Regions from separate parts of the Homo sapiens genome. Here all the other regions are linked to region 3. Evidence: promoter capture Hi-C in human tissues and cell types (Jung and others, 2019). All regions are on one chromosome and are shown on one strand. Each heading gives the region's core, a stretch centred on a gene start or on the middle of the fragment in contact. The rest is flanking DNA. Distances are from core to core; before and after follow the strand shown.

The links. Contacts are between HindIII fragments. The study calls those that stand out against the background at their distance.
Region 1: a contact is called between a fragment that was not itself captured here and the fragment with the promoter of PAWR in region 3, in 1 of the 25 tissues and cell types used here (lymphoblastoid cells).
Region 2: a contact is called between a fragment that was not itself captured here and the fragment with the promoter of PAWR in region 3, in 1 of the 25 tissues and cell types used here (IMR-90 fibroblasts).

The regions. Positions count from the first base shown.
Region 1 is chr12:80,759,060-80,761,968 of GRCh38, forward strand. No RefSeq gene overlaps it. Among named protein-coding and RNA genes, the nearest start is that of LINC01490, 2.6 kb to the right of the region's middle. The HindIII fragment of the contact is 5,402 bases long and covers 1-2,909 here.
Region 2 is chr12:80,775,348-80,778,186 of GRCh38, forward strand. No RefSeq gene overlaps it. Among named protein-coding and RNA genes, the nearest start is that of LINC01490, 14 kb to the left of the region's middle. RefSeq lists enhancers at 2,374-2,839, 2,818-2,839. The HindIII fragment of the contact is 6,837 bases long and covers 1-2,839 here.
Region 3 is chr12:79,689,633-79,692,695 of GRCh38, forward strand. PAWR (pro-apoptotic WT1 regulator) reads right to left here and starts at 1,332. Exons shown (of 7, transcript NM_002583.4): 1 at 1,240-1,332; 2 at 97-759. The coding sequence starts at 612. It overlaps PPP1R12A-AS2 (PPP1R12A antisense RNA 2), which reads left to right and starts at 400. Exons shown (of 7, transcript NR_187531.1): 1 at 400-764. RefSeq lists silencers at 40-559, 1,330-1,629. The HindIII fragment of the contact is 10,737 bases long and covers 1-3,063 here.

The DNA.
Region 1 (2,909 bases), core at 4-2,503, 1.1 Mb after region 3:
CTGATCAACAGGTAAGAGGGTACAATTAAACAGAAGGAATAATTTCTGGCATTCTGTTGGATAGTAAGGTGACTACAGTTATTAATAATATATTGTATGTTTCAAAATAGCTGAAAGAGAGAATGTTAAATGTTCTCACCATAAGAAATGATAAATATTTGTGTTGATGTATATGCTAATTACTGATTTGATCATTCCACAATGTATATGTATTTTGAAATATCACACTGCATCCCATAAATACATACAATTATTATCTGACAGTTGAAAATAAAATAAAATAGAATTTTATGTTGGAAAAAAAAGATAAGGTAGTAGATTGGATTAGGATAACAGTAAAGAGACCAAGAGATTTATTGGAAAGACTGTGTGATTGATTGACTATTGGATGAGAGGAAGAAAAGAAAGATTTCAAAATAATTCCCAAGTTTCTGATTCTAATGTTATGAATAATAACATTTCAGTGAATAACTGAAATAGGGAATGTTAGTGTAGGAATTTCATCATAATTTTTGTTCTGGTTGTATAAGTGTGATCATCTAAATGAAATTCGATCAGATAATAGTATTCAGTATTTCAGTAGGTGCAAGAATTGTGTTTTATGGGATCTACACTATATTTTCTGATTAATTTCAACCTTAGATAATAAAACGAATTGAATTGAGTCTTGTTAGCACTTTAGATTATGGGGAATTACTAGATTAAAAATACTCTTTAAAGCTTTAGGGTTCAGGAGTTTGTACTTTTCAAAGCATTGCTTAAACAAACTGAGGTAGTGGGAAATGAAGAGAATAGAGTCTGGTAACATAAAATAAAACTCATAGCAATTTTTTGTTGTTGACCGAGGTCAGTTTAGTTGAACCGTCTTGCAAGAAATAAAAACACATTTAAAATAAAATTCAAAAAAATGAATATCTCAAAGTATTGTAATTAATCTATTCTATTGTTGTTTTATACATTTTTGTACCTTTATTATAGCATTTATCACATTCTACAGAGGATTGTAATTATTGCTGTTACATCTTTGTGTCTCCTACCCAATTATAACCACTTACTGGGCAAAGACAGTGTCTTTTTTATTTTTTCCCACTCGCAACTCACACACTGCTTATATCTCACTCAGTATATGTTTACTGGTCTTTTAAATTATCAGTTTTAACTTCTTCTGAGGCAATTTTTTAATAGGCTGGATCCAAACCAGTTTTCCTGAGAACTAATACAAATGTGAACTTATATTTGATGAACTAGATTGTTAGACCTTGTAGGGCAAGAAAAAAAAAAACCCTTTTCTTTCCTACACATCTTAGGCTCATTGAATGGAGTCTTGTAAATTAGACCGACGAAAGACAGATTGTCAAGAGAAAAACACACTAATTTATTTACTATAAGTTTCACATGACACAGGAGCCTTCCTAAGGAAATAAAGACCTCAAGAGACTGTTAATCTTGAATGGTTTTATGCTAGGTGTGATGAAGAGTGGAGAGTCTTGGGAAAATTTGATAGTACAAAAAGATATCATAGGAGAAAGGGCTAAGTGTAGTAAAGTGGGGGACATTTAGCAAAGTCTGTTCTTTCAGATTCCTCCTGGTAACTCTCCATCTTCAGAGATCAGGATGCTCCTTTCCTCCAGGTACAGGGAGTGCACCTCTCACATGAGAGTCTCATGACCTGCTTAAGGGGAAGAAGCTCAGAGAGTCCTTCCTGCACCTGCTGTTTCTCAAATTCCTTCTGTTTGAAATCGTCAATATGCCAAGGCAGCATACTCTGGGGTAGTGCTTTCTGAATCCTTTTAACCCTGAAGCATGGGAAAACTACTGACTTACCTCGAAGCGACATTCAAAGAATTTGCCATTTTCTTGTCTACCTATTTATTGTTTCATATTATTCTTATTGTTATTGTTCTGGCCCAGTTATACTCAACGGGTGATATGAGGGTTGTGTTTCACCATCTACTCCTGGTATTTGAAGAGTAACTTCTAGACAAGAAATTGTGATAGAACCGAGGCTTGCATTTTGTCAATCTTATATTAAAGGGGAAAACAAGTAAGAACAGTGCTCAATAAATCATCTTCAATGTTTCTCAGATCCGCTCTACACATTACTCTTTCCTCCTTCCCACCCATTCAATTATTCAGCAAATATTTATTGAGTTTTTTAGGAAGTGGGGGCACACCGATGAATAAAACAGATTAAAATCTCTGCCTTTGTAAAGTTTTTAATTCAGAAGAGGGAAACAATGAAAAATAAGCAGCACAGAAGAGAGAAAGAGAAGGGCTAGTGCAGGGGGCAGATACAGACACAGATATGCATGTTGGAAGCTAATAAATACTGACGAACAAAGGAAAATATTAAATAAAGTAGATAGAGTAGGCCATACTGTGAAAACAAGATCCCAACGAAGTGTTGAAGGATCTGCAGGAATTAGCCCAGCAGTTGTCTCGAAGAAAGTATCCTAAGCAGAGAGAAGGCTAGCTCAAATGTCCTAAGGTAGACATACCCAATGTTCCTGAGAAACAGCTCAGGGGCCAATGTGGTTGGAGGGGAGTGAGCTAAGCGGGGCTAGTAGGACATGTGGCAGAGGAGTAAGAGAGAGATAGATCACAAAAAGCCTTGAAGGCTCTTAAAAGAATCTGTTTTTACTCTAAAGGGTCATTACAGGGTTCTAAGCAGAGGAGTGACACAGTCTGACTTATGCTTTTATTAAAGGAGTTGCTTTAAAGACAGCAACTCCTTTTGGAGACCAACTGCTGTGTTGAGGATAGATTGGGGCAGGGCAGGGGCCAGGTGGGGGCTGGGGGACCTGGAATCGGGAAGACCAGCAGGAAGTTATCATGGTGATTCAGGTGGGAGATGATGGCCAGGACTGAAATGACAGCAATGGAAGCAGTGCAAAGGGCGCAGCTACTGT
Region 2 (2,839 bases), core at 313-2,812, 1.1 Mb after region 3:
TGTAGTCTGAGAGGTTACTTGACATGATTTTAAGTTTTTAAATTTGTTGAGACTGATTTTGTAGCCTAACATATGGTCTATCCTGGAGAATGCTCCATGCGCCAAAGAAAAGAATGTATATTCTTCAGTTGTTGGATAGAATGTTCTCTAAACATCTGTTAGGTCCATTTGGTCTAAAGTTTAGTTTAAATCCAATGTTTCTTTGTTGATTTTCTGTCTAGATGCTAATGCTAATGCTGAGAGTGAAGTACTGAAGTTTCCCCACTCTAATTATATTCCAGTCTATCTCTCTCTTTAGAGCTAGTAATATTTATTATGAATCTGGGTGATCCAGTGTTAACCCTACTAAATTTTTCTGATAGTTTATCTTTAAGCTCCTCTCCTTCACATGGGTTGGGCTGGGCAAGAGTGAAGGTGGACATAGAAAAACCTCTCCCAAAAACATCATTTCTTACACTTTTATTTCTCTGTTGATCTGATATATGGAAGAGGAAGGGTGCTTTGAATTGAATGGGCCCAGTGCTATTATTTTTAGATAGTATAGGGATGATATGGTTTGACTCTGTGTCCCCACTGAAATCTTATCTCAAATTGTAATCCCCATAATCCCTATGTGTCAAGGACAGGTCCAGGTGGAGGTAATTGGATCATGGGGGTAGTTTCTCCCATGCTGTTCTCATGATAGTGAGTGAGTTCTTGTGAGATCTGATGGTTTTATAAGCATCTGGCATTTCCCCTACACATACTCACTCCGCCTTGCTGCCATGTAAAGAAGGTGACTGCTTCTCGTTTGCCTTCTGCCATGATTGTAAGTTTCCTGAGGCCTCCCCAGCAATCCATAACTATGAGTCAATTAAACCTCTTCCCTTTGTCAATTATCCAGTCTCAAGTATTTCTTCCTAGCCGAGTGAGAACAGACTAATATAATGGCTTTCTTTAGAGTATGGGAATATGCAGTTAACTTCTATTTCATCTTCAAATCTTAGCTATAATTCTGGCCCAATAAAAACATATTACTCTCATATGTAAACATGAGATCTTATAACATATAATATCATATCATATTTGCCTCAGTAGATTGCAATTGGATTGAAAGAAGAAAGTCAAAACTATCCTATTATTTGTCACATTCTACATAGGCAGCTGGGAACTTAAGCAGTGACTATGCTGGGTAGCTTAACTTCTAATGAGGAGCAACAGCCCAGGGTGCAGGGAATTCCTAACTTTAGACCCAGCTAGGTTTCCTTTACTATTAGTAAACCCTGCCTAAACGTTCATATGCAGGTAGTCTGTTTCTCTGAAATAAAGGATATCACAATAATTAAAATCTGTTAATATATGTGAAGTTCTTAGAACAGCACTTGACACATAGTAAGTACAAATATAATGAATTCTTATAATTGTATGTTGCTTCAACATCCATTTTGAATGTAAATGGCTTGACTTTCCATATTCAATGAGTTAATAGGTTTGACTTCCTCATACAAGAGGCAGAGCTTAGTCACCCTTGACAGAGTTTTCAGTTCTCCACCTCTTCCCAGTTTTTCAAGGTGTTTCATTCAGATATCTGTCTCATTAACTGCCTCCTGGTGACTACTTCCCTACGAGATAGTTACATTCAACCTACTTGCTCTACCCACTCCCACATGTGGCATGTGCTTTGTAGATAGGCCACAGTGACCACCTTTCAGTCACTGCAGGACTGCATCAAACTGCCCACTTGCTCTTAAACCCACCAGTTGTAACTCCCCACCGGAAATCTACCTAGGAAATGGCCTGAACCCCAATAAAGTCTTTGGACCTCAGGTCTCTTACTCTATCTCTCTTGCTCCCCACTTGACAGTTGAGTGTGTGTCCTGGACTCCCTCCTTCCTGTCGGTCCTGAAAAATGTGCTGCTCTCTTCTCTCTAGGGTATATGTGAGTAATAAAACTGCTTCTATTATTCCATGTGATATAGTTTGGCTGTGTCCCTACCCAAATTTCATCTTGAATTGTAGCTCCCACAATTCCCACATGTTGTGGGAGGGACCCAGTGGGAGGTAATTGAATCTTGGGGGTGGGTCTTTCCTGTGCTGTTCTCGTGATAGTGAATAAGTCTCACGAGATCTGATGGTTTTAAAAAGGGGAGTTTCCCTGCACAAGCTCTCTCTTTGCCTGCTGTCATCCATGTAAGGCGTGACTTGTTCCTCCTTGCCTTCCATCATAATTGTGAGGCCTCCCATCCATGTGGAACTGTGAGTCCATTAAACATCTACCCTGTATAAGTTACCCAGTCTCTGGTATGTCTTTATTAGCAGTGTGAAAACGGATTAATATACCATGTGTTTTGTTGTGCTGCCTCTTCTGCATCTCACACGACCAACATACCCGAACCTAACTTCTTTTCCAGTCAGGGCTCTCCTACAGAGTGGCTATCTTGGTAGGAATAAACTATTCACAGGTCTGGTGAGAGTCACAAGGGCATTTGCCAGTGTAAATAAGTTTCCTGTGAGAAGAACAATTGGACACGGGTCAGACACTTTAGCAAGTTAAGTATTCTGACAAAAGATAAAGGTCAGGATAAAAATGAAATTAGAGAAAAAAAATACAACTCAATAAATGTTAGCTGTTAAGTATAGCTTTGTCTACCCAAAATACTTCTCTAATTATCTTATTTCGGTAAAACACTGTTGTAGATTGCAAAAGCAGCCCAATTTTCTGTTCCTCTGTGTATAAATGCCTTTTACAATGATCAAGAGGTAGAGACTTTTCCCCCAGTTGCTGACTCTGGGCTGGGCTAGTGACTTGTTTTGGCCAATAGAATGTGATAGAAATTACATTTTGCCTGTCTGAGCCTAA
Region 3 (3,063 bases), core at 82-2,581:
GGTAAACTCTGCGCCCCGGGTAGCTCCCAGGAGGAAGACACCGGGAGGCAGCTGCCCGCCCCGGCCCGGTCCGGCTGCGGCCCCCGCCCGGCTCACCTCTGCGGCAGGGATGTTGACCACGCCGGTGGAGCGCCGCTTCTCCCGCAGCTTCCTCTTCTCGATCTGCCCCTTGCCTTTCCTGGCACTGGGGCCCGAGCTCTTGCCCTTCTCTGGGACGCCGTCCGGCTCCTCCTCGTCACGCTGGGGCGGCGGTGCAGCCGAGGCAGAGGCGGCTGGGGGCTCGTCCTCCGACCGCCGCGGGCCGGGGGCCGCCCGCGTCAGCATGGCGGAGCCGACCGCGCAGTTCACGCCCCCGGGACCGGGGACGGCAGGTGCGGCCGGCGCGCCGCCCGGGAGGTTGTTGTTGAGCTCGTTGGCAGCGGCGGCCGCCGGGGTGCCCAGAGCCCCCGCGGGGGGCTTCCCAGCGGCGTCGCTGCTGCCCCCTCCCGGGGGGGCCGGGCCCGGGGGGTTCTGCTTGGCGCGCATCTTCTCGCGTTTCGCCTTCCACTCCTCCAGGAAGTCTGTGGTGCTGCCGCCGAGGCCGCTGCTGGTCCGGTAGCCACCGGTCGCCATATTCCCAAAGGGGCCGGTCGGGCTCTCACCTCAGGCCGCCCACCAGGGCTCCGGCCGCTGCCTCCTCTTCCTTCCTGCGGCCCCGAGGATGCCAGGAGACGACCTCCAGGAGAGGGACGGCCGCCGCTCCCACAGCAGCCGGCGGGGCTGAGGTGAAAGACAAAAGGGGGCGGGTAAGGGAAGCGTAAGATCCCCGCCCGACCCAAGGGTCTGCCCCCGGGCTGCGCCCCTTGGAGTCCTCGAGCGCGCCCACCAGTCACTACCGGCCAGCAGCCGCCGGGTCCCCACCCTGCAAAGTTTCTCCCACGCACCTACAGTACGGACCCCGACGATCGCCGCCCCTAGAAGGGAGGAGAGAGGACTGACCCCACCCCCAAGTCGGCCCGCCCGCCCCATCCCCACCAAGGTCCGCGCCGGCGGCGGTCGAGATACTAGGGCTAGACCCGCCACCTGTCGGCTCGTCGTATCGCCTGCTCCGCGCTCTAGCCACCGCCGGTCCGAGGTCCCCGTCAGCTACAACCCCACTCCCAAGGCGAGGCGCGGAGCTCCTAGCCGGTTCGCAGAGGAGGCGGGGACCCAGCTGTCCCGCCGAGCGTGGAAAGGACCGGGTGTGAGCGAGCGCCTTACCTTGGAGGAGCTTGTAGGGGACGAGGCGTAGGGCTGGGATCCGGCTCCCAGGTGTGCCGAAGCTGGCGCGCGCTCTTCCGCCGCGCGGAAAGTGCCGCGGCAAACTCGCGGTGCGGAGCTCCAGGCAATCCCAGGACAGGAGGGAGGGAGAAGAAGGAGGGAGGGAGGGAGGGAGGGAGCCAGGGGCGGGAAGGGAGCCGAGCGGCGCCGAAGCACGAGCGGAAAAGGCCGAGGCGGCGCGCGAGGGGCGCGGCGCGCGGTGGGAAGGGTCGTGGCCGCTGACGCCCCGCCCCCGGCGCTCAGGTGCGCGGCGTCGCGTCCGGCCCGCCGCTGCAGCCTGCCCTGCGCCAGCCGTCCTCTGCCCCGCTCCCGCCGCAGACCACAGCGCGCCCGCCGCGCTCCGCCCGCGGCCTGCGAGTTAGACGGCACATTCCTGGGCTAGCAGCTTCGCGGCGTCCGGCCTCCCGGCGCCTCCGACTCCGGGGCGGGAACGGCACTCCACGCCCTTCTTGCTTGTCTTCTCCGCCTCTCTCTTCTCCCACCACTCTTCCTTTTAAGTACAAGACCGTATTATTTGAGAGAAAGTCTCGAACGCTGCTGGCTAAGGGGAAAAGTGCGATAACTTGTGATGATTCAGGGAATGACTAGACAGGATGGGAAAATACCCACGTGTCTCTTTTCCTAGTCGCTGCTCCCTTTTCAGATGTACTAGGGCAGCGGGCAGGAGAATAGAAAGACCTGAGACAAACCCAGCACCCTCCTTCTAAGAAAACTGCGGTGCCCTGGTGAAAAGGGTTGGCTAAGAGGAAGGACTTACTAGTATCTTAGGGTTGCGGGAGAAAAAACTCAGTTCGACAGTTTATTGTATTGGCGATTCCAGTCTTGGAGTTTTCCCCTTAACCCTGTCTCTGCCTCTCCTCTTTACAGAGAATGAATTTAGCAGCAAAGCTCCCTACCAAAGTACTAACGCTGCACTGATGCTAATTTGAGATGAGCTGGGGCAGTGATTGTCTCTATTTTTTCATTATTAACATGCCAGAGGCTTATCCTCTGATGCAAGTCATCTGAAATTTCTGGATCAGAGCGGGGTGGGCTGTCACTGACGCACCTAAGACTGACCTTTCTATATCCAAGTAATGTCAGGGCACATCATTGTGGGAGGCTACAAATGCCAGGTCTCCATTTTGTAAAAAAGTAGGAGAGCCCTAAGTCACGCTCTTACCTAACATAAACCTTTCTTCCTACTTAATATTCCTGTTTTGCCCAGGTAGCACATGATGAGTGAGCAATCAGTGTTTGCCTGCCACAGAACTGGGAACAGAAGAAAGTGATTCACATGCTCTATATTTCTCAGGGAAAGACAGTTTTGGTCTTTGGTCTGGCTGTTGTGGGAAACGTATGGCGAGAGCTCTGGAAAAATCCTTAGAAAATTAAAAGCTTTTGTTGGGAATAGGTCTAAAAGGCTGAGCGGCTGTTTACCTAAGCTAGTACCAACCCCAGTGTGCCACCTGAAGTTTCTCAATTACATATTCATTAGTTTGTTTTCTGAGTTTTAAGGAGAGTAAGGGAGGCTGGGACATTAAACGTATTCACATTCATATGCTTTGTAACTTATCAGAGGACTTTTCTCCTGGAAGGGCTGCAGGATATAGTGGAAAGAGGGTATAGTCAGCTAGCTGAGAGATCTTGGGCATGTTTACATTATCTGGTACTCAGCTTTCTGTACTATAAAATCAGCAAAAATTACATTTTTTTTTTTTTTGAGGCGGAGTCTCGCTCTGTCGCCAGGCTGGAGTGCAGTGGCGGGATCTCAGCTCACTGCAA